2 separate regions of the Homo sapiens genome follow, and region 1 is linked to region 2. The links are contacts of gene promoters, found by promoter capture Hi-C in blood cells and fetal thymus (Javierre and others, 2016). All regions are on one chromosome and are shown on one strand. The core of a region is centred on a gene start or on the middle of the fragment in contact, and the rest is flanking DNA. Distances in the headings are between cores, read along the strand shown.

Region 1 (3,414 bases), core at 1-2,500, 720 kb after region 2:
CGTGAGGGCTTACTGGCCATCTTTAAGTCTGGAGGCATTCCTGCCCTGGTGAAAATGCTTGGGTAAGAAAACATGTCAGAATGCTTGAAGCTAAAAAGTAGAAGAGTATACTCACAATATTTCTGATGAGGCTTTTTTCTTCTTCCCAGTTCACCAGTGGATTCTGTGTTGTTTTATGCCATTACAACTCTCCACAACCTTTTATTACATCAAGAAGGAGCTAAAATGGCAGTGCGTTTAGCTGGTGGGCTGCAGAAAATGGTTGCCTTGCTCAACAAAACAAATGTTAAATTCTTGGCTATTACGACAGACTGCCTTCAAATTTTAGCTTATGGCAACCAAGAAAGCAAGGTAAGAGAATTATTCTTTATGTGGTTTTCATGGAGCATTGGACACCTCCAGTGTCATGTCATTCCATGCAGTGTTCCTAACCTTTTTGGCACCAGGGACCAGTTTCGTGGAAAACAGTTTTTCCATGAATGGGTTGTGGGAATGGTTTCTGGATGACACCATTCCACCTCAGATAATCAGGCATTAGATTCTCATAGGGAGCGTGCAGCCTAGATCCCTCGCATGTGCAGTCCACACTAGGGTTTCTACTCCTATGAGACTCTCATGGTGCAGTTGATCTGACAGGAGGTAGAGCTCAAGCCAGGTAATGCTCGCTCACCTGCCACTTACCTCCTGCTGTGCAGCCCAGTTCATTTCTGTTCTTTTAAATTTTTGAGTTTCCATATGTAAAGCACTATGCGAAGTAGTAGGGATATGGTAGGCAAGCTTCTCTTCACACTTTTGTTCTTAGGTGGGATGTAGATGTTGGGAATAATAACCTAATATTTAATTTGTGTAGTGGGAAGAAGTGGGGCTATGAGGGCACATAACACAAGTTGAAACTGACTCTTTTTGAGGGTTCAAGGAGACCTCTTGGAGGAAGTGATAGTTGAGTTCAGTGTTCAAGGATGAGAAGGGATTCACTAGGTGAAGGTTAGGTGAGAAAACAACATCTTTGAAACGAAGGAAGGAGATGGAAAGTTTTGGGAATTTAAGAAATACTAATAGTAAGGAGGAAGAAAGGTTTGAGGTGAGGCTATTGAGATAGACTTAGCAGATCTCATAGGGCTTTGTAGAGCATGTTTAAAAGCACAATGGGAAATTTCAGCAGAAGCCTGAAATGATGAAATTTGTTTTTAGAAAATTGGGGCAGTGTTGAAAGGGAAGATATACAGGGAATGAAAGGACAAGCATGAATGATCATTTTATGGTATCTGTTTTTAAGGTGGATATAATTAGGAAAATTAAAGGGCCAAATGATGAGGAGTTAAGTGCCAGTTCTGGTTCAAATTTTCAGTGAATCAGTTTTGATATAACTTTCATCTTAGGGCATTACTCTTGCCTACCAACATAGTTTCTAAATTTTTTTCTTTTGGTGTGATCACTGTGGGAAGAAGGAAATTGGGCCCAAACTGATACATTGTTTGGAGGACTGGGATGTCTGAATTTGAGTGGAATGCTTTAAAAGGACAAGTTGGATAGGGCCCCAGTATGGGGGTCTGAGTGATGGGGTCCAGGAATACATTTAGGTCCAATGGCAAGCTGGCTGAAATTCTTGTATAATAAAATAGGTTGGTAATATGGCTCTTCTCAGACATGTGATCAAGATTCCTTGACTAACAAGATATATATATATATCTTTCTAGCTCATCATACTGGCTAGTGGTGGACCCCAAGCTTTAGTAAATATAATGAGGACCTATACTTACGAAAAACTACTGTGGACCACAAGCAGAGTGCTGAAGGTGCTATCTGTCTGCTCTAGTAATAAGCCGGCTATTGTAGAAGCTGGTAAGTATATGTATCTATTCTGAGTCTTGTGTATAGCATCTGCAGTTCTAATTAGATTACTTTTCTTAGGAAAAGGTGGTAGAACTTTAACTACTGAAAATAAATGGTCCTATTCAGTTTGCAGCCAAGATTTACATTCAGAGTACCTGTCATCTGGATTGTAGCTAAATATTTAAGGCTAGTTTAGGTAGAGTTCTTATTATCCATCAAAAATGATGGCATATGTTTTGCTTAATAAAATTTGTTTGTAATTTCAGTTTTGAGTAAACCTAAGATTTGCTAACAGAGCTGTGAATTTATAGGAGAAAAGACAAATTCTAATATAGTACAGTTTTATGTAAAGTGATTGCTTTATTAGTAGATGCTCATGAGCAGTTTTTGTTTTGTTTTAACTTTTAGGTTCCGGGTAATGTGCAGGCTTGTTATATAGGTAAATTGCATGTCACAGGGGTTTCGTGTGCAGATTATTTTGTCACCCAGGCAGTAAGTATTGTACCCAATAGGTAGTTTTTCAGTTCTTTACCTCCCACCCGTAAGTAGGCCCCAGTGTCTGTTGTTCCCTTCTTTGTGCCCGTGTGTACTCAGTGTTTACCTCCCACTTATAAGTGAGAACATGTGGTATTTGGTTTTCTATTCCTATGTTAGTTTGCTTAGGATAATGGCCTCCAGCTCCATCCATGTTGCTGAGGAAGACATCTTGGTATTTTTTTATGGCTGCTTAGTATTCCATAGTATATATGTACCACATTTTCTTTATCTAGTCTACCATTGATGGGCATTTAGGTTAATTCCATATCTTTGCTATTGTGAATAATGCTGCAGTGAACATATGCATGCATGTGTCTTTATGGTAAAAAGATTTCTTTTTCTTTGGGCATATACCTAATAATAGGATTGCTGGATTGAATGGTAATTCTGTCAGGTTTTTTGAGAAATCACCAAATTGCTTTCCACAATGGCTGAACTAATTTACTTTCCCACCAGCAGTGTATAAGCATTCTCTTTTCTCAGCAACCTCACCAGCATCTGTCATTTTTTGACTTTTTATTAGTAGCCATTCTAACTGGTGTGAGACGGTATCTCATTGTGGTTTTGATTTGCATTTCTCTAATGATCAGTGATGTCGAGCTTTTCTTCATATGTTTCTTGGCCACTTGTATGTCTTCTTTTGAAAAGTGTCTGTTCATGTCCTTTGCCCACTTTTTAATGGGGTTGTTCTTTTTTGCTTGTTAATTTAAGTTTATTGTAAACTCTGGATATTAGACCTTTGTCAGATGCATAGTTTGCCAGTACTTTCTCCCATGCCAGTACTTTCTCCCATTCTGTAGGTTGTCTGTTTACTCTGTTGATTTCTTTTGCTGCGCAGAAGCTCTTTATACTGTCCCATTTGTCAGTTTTTGTTTTTGTTGCAACTTCTCTTGGCATCTTCGTCATGAAATCTTTGCCAGGTCTTATGTCCAGAATGGTATTTCCTAGGTTATCTTGCAGAGTTTTTACAGTTTTAAGTTTTATATTTAAGTCTTTAATCCATTCTGAGTTGATTTTTGTACATCATGTAAGGATGGGGTGCAG
Region 2 (3,781 bases), core at 645-3,144:
AATGTTGAGCATCTTTTCAAATATTTAATTGCTTTCCATATATCTTCTTTGGTGAAGTATCTGTTCAAATCTTTTGCCTATTTTTAAAAATTGGTTTATTTTCTTATGAGTGAGTTTTGAGAGTCCTTTATATATTTTGGAAACAAGTCTTTTATCAAATATTTTTGGTATTTTCTCCCAGTCTGTGGCTTGTCTTTTCATTCTCTAAAAGTATCTTCTGAAAAGCAGAAGATTTAACTTTGATTAAGTCCAATTTATCATGTTTTTTTCCACTGGCTAATACTGTTTAGAATTTGTGGTGTATATGTATGTACGTTTATGTGCACCCACTCATGGTAAATGTTCATTTTAATAGGTTTAGCGAAGGGACAGTATGCACATGTATGTCCTTGTCATGCCATTGTTTCTGGAAATCTAATTATTTAAAACAAGTGCTGTGCATAAACTTTAAAGTGAAAATACTATAGATTTTATAAAATGAACTGTTTCTGTGACAGTTAAAATCTCTGTGCTAGGTGGCCCCACAATGGCTCCCAATGGTTCTCATATCCTGGCATTCAAACCTTGTGTATCTCTTCCCACACTGAATCATGACTAATCTGAGGAGAATGTATTGAGGAAATCATGATGCATGATTTCCAAAACTAGGTCATAAAAGCTTTGGCCTTGGCCTCTTGGATTGCTCACTTTGGGAGAAAGCTACATGCCATGTTGTGAAAACCCTCACATGGGAAGGAACTGACGCTTCCTGCCAACAACCAGCACCCACTTGACAGCCATGTGAGTAAACCACCTTGGAGGTGGATCCTCCAAACTCAGTCAAGCTTCAGATGACTTCAGCCCCACATGACACCTGACTGCAACCTCAGCAGAGACCCTCAGCCAGTACCACCCAGCCAAGCTGCTCTTGAATTCTGGGTCCACAGAAACTGTCAAAAGATAACAATGTTTATTGTTTTTAGCCACAAAGCATTAGAGTAGTTTATTATCCAGCAGTAGATACATAATATACTCTCCATGGCAGGACTTGTTTTGAAAGTGGTGGATAAATCTAATTCCTGTGGAAGGAATAACTAAAATCTGTTTCCAGGCTGGGCCGGGACACACATCCCAGTACAGGGCAGGAAAGGGCTCTAAGCCAAATGTTAATAGCTCTTTCGCTAAACTTCGAAAATTGTCCTTAAAAAAATCTATTTCCCTAAAGCACGCCACATATTGGAGTCCCAGCAGCACCTATTTTGTGTCTTCAAAAAACACAATTGGAAAACAAAACAATACAAACTCACGAGTACATACTATGTGCCAGGCACAACTGTAAATAATTTACCTATCAATTAACTAATTTAATGAATTAACCCTGAACAGCCTCAAGAGGTTGGTACCACCATCATAATACCCATTTAATAGACAAGGAAACCGGGGCAAAGAAACTTGCTGCAGGTCACACAACTAGCAAGTGGTGCAGCTGGGTTTCTGGACCTACGTAGTCCATACACATTCGGCCTTCTGAGTAATGGGTTCGCCTTTCCCCACACCCACTTTTCCCACTGCAGCGCACCCACACAATCCAGACAGTTTTGGCGCATGTGAAGGGCGCGATGGTCCCTTCATTATCTGGAAGGACACCCAGAGTGGCAAATGCCAGATAACCACGAATAATACCCAGGATAGTAACCATTCTGTGGCCTGAGCTGGCCAGACGTCATGCCCCGAAGGAGCTACCAGGTGTGGGCGCTGCAGGACCCCTGCCTGGGGCCGCCCGCTCGGGCCCGTGTTGTCTCAGGCAGTAGGGACACTGGCGCTGACGGCGGGGGTAGGAAACCACAGAGACTGGCAACTTCCCAGGTTCCTAGAGAGGAGGGGCATGGAAAACGCACTTCCGGCGGAGGGTCTCAAGCTTTCCCCGGTGTCGGCGGCAGGTGGAATTTCCACGCTTTATCTGCGCCTGCGCCGCGCGGGATTCGCGGTCCGAGCTGAAGAGGTTCGCGGTCCGGGTAACTGATTGGTTTTCCTGGGGCTTGTTCTGCCTGGTTTTGCAACCCCTTTGCTTTTTGGGGTGAGGAGTTGGCGGAAAGGAGAGGGGCCCAAGTAGCACAGAGGGCATTTGCGGGGTGCGAGGCAGCATCAATCTCACCGGTGCTTCTTTATTTTCTCTTCAGTTTCACTTCTCCGAACCCTGAGGCAGTGTGTGAAGCTGGGACGCCAGCCATGTTCCAGACCGCTTGGCGCCAGGTGAGTGAGCATCCTCTCCCTCCCTCCCACCCTTTAGATGTCAAGAGAGAGCAGGTGTCACCTCTGCATTCAGATCTTGAGTTGTGTAGGCCAGTGGCTTCCATTGTGCATCTGTCACTATGAGAGGGATGGAGAGGTGAGAATGCCCAAATTAAGACTAGAAAACTAGTGAGTGTGGGGGGATTGGTTGGGATTTGGCATTTGAAGCCAGCTTAAAAATAAAAATTATGAAATGTGGAAATCTGCATTATTACATCCAATAAAGACCCCTTTCACCCTAGTCCGCAGGCTTGGAGAAGTACTTACTTCTTCAGTATAGCAATTCTAGTAACTGTTTTGTAGATTCCATTGTATTTTCTACATAGGTCATCTATGAGTAAAGATAGTTTTACTCCTTTCTTTCCAGTCTGGATGCCTTTTATTTTATTTTGTCTTGCCTTACTGCACTGGCTAGAAGCATTATTTCAATATTGAACAGAAGTGGTGAGAGCAGATATCTTTGTCTTATTTATGCTTTTAAAGTGAAAGCATTCAATCTTTCACACTGAAGACTGATGTTCACTGTAGGTTTCTTGCTTTTTTGTTTTGTTTTGTTTTGTAAATGTCCTTTATCAGGCATTCTCTTCTAGTACTACTTTGGTGAGAGTTTTTATAGGAATGGATGTTGGATTTTGACAATTGCTTTTTCTGTGTCTATTTAGATGACCATATGGTTTTTTTTTTTTTTTTTTTTTGAGATGGAGTCTTGCTCTATCGACAGGCTGGAGTGCAGTGGCGCGATCCTGGTTCACTGCACCCTCCACCTCTGGGGTTCAAGCGATTCTCCTGCCTCAGCCTCCCGAGTAGCTGGGACTACAAGCACGCGCCACCACACCCAGCTAATTTTTGTATTTTTAGTAGAGACCAGGTTTCACCATGTTGGCCAGGATGGTCTCGATCCCTTGACCTCGTGATTCCCCCACCTTGGCTTCCCAAAGTGCTGGGATTACAGGCGTGAGCCACCGTGCCCAGCCTCTCTTTGTTAATGTGGTGAATTACATGATTTTTCTTTCAAATATTAAACCAACTCTGCGGTGGGATAAAACCGACTTCGTCATGGTGTATTATTATTTTATTAGTACTATATATTGAATTTAATTTGTTAAAATTTTATTTAGAATTTCTGTATCTATGTTTATGAGGTATTGATTTGCAGTTTTCTTTTCTTGTGATGTCTTTGTTCCATAGAATGAGAAATATTCCCTCCTCTTTAATATTTTGGAAGAATTTATGTAGAGTTGACTGCATTTCTTCCTTAAATGTTTGGTAGAATTCAACAGTGAAGCTATCTAGGCATGGGGTTTTCTTTCTGATAAGGTTTTTAAGTACAGTTTTGAGTCCTTTGGTAGATACAGGGGCTACTCTGGTTATCTCTTTTTATTTATTTATTTTTATTTTTTGACAACGGTTTTCTCTATGTTGCCCAGGCTGACCTCAAATTGGGCTCAAGCAATCCTCCCCGCTCAGCCTCCCAGGTACCTGGGACTACAGGCATGCATCACTACGCCCA

What was found. Contacts are between HindIII fragments. The CHiCAGO score rates a contact against its expected background, and 5 or more counts as called.
Region 1: a fragment that was not itself captured here is called in contact with the fragment with the promoter of ZNF620 in region 2 in 1 of 17 cell types (total B cells); the score reaches 7.4 in total B cells.

What each region holds. Positions count from the first base shown.
Region 1 is chr3:41,225,511-41,228,924 of GRCh38, forward strand. CTNNB1 (catenin beta 1) reads left to right here. Exons shown (of 15, transcript NM_001904.4): 5 at 1-62; 6 at 150-351; 7 at 1,698-1,842. Among named protein-coding and RNA genes, the nearest start is that of CTNNB1, 28 kb to the left of the region's middle. RefSeq lists an enhancer at 1-97. The HindIII fragment of the contact is 951 bases long and covers 776-1,726 here.
Region 2 is chr3:40,504,145-40,507,925 of GRCh38, forward strand. It overlaps ZNF620 (zinc finger protein 620), which reads left to right and starts at 1,895. Exons shown (of 5, transcript NM_175888.4): 1 at 1,895-1,994; 2 at 2,160-2,232. The coding sequence starts at 2,209. The HindIII fragment of the contact is 1,073 bases long and covers 823-1,895 here.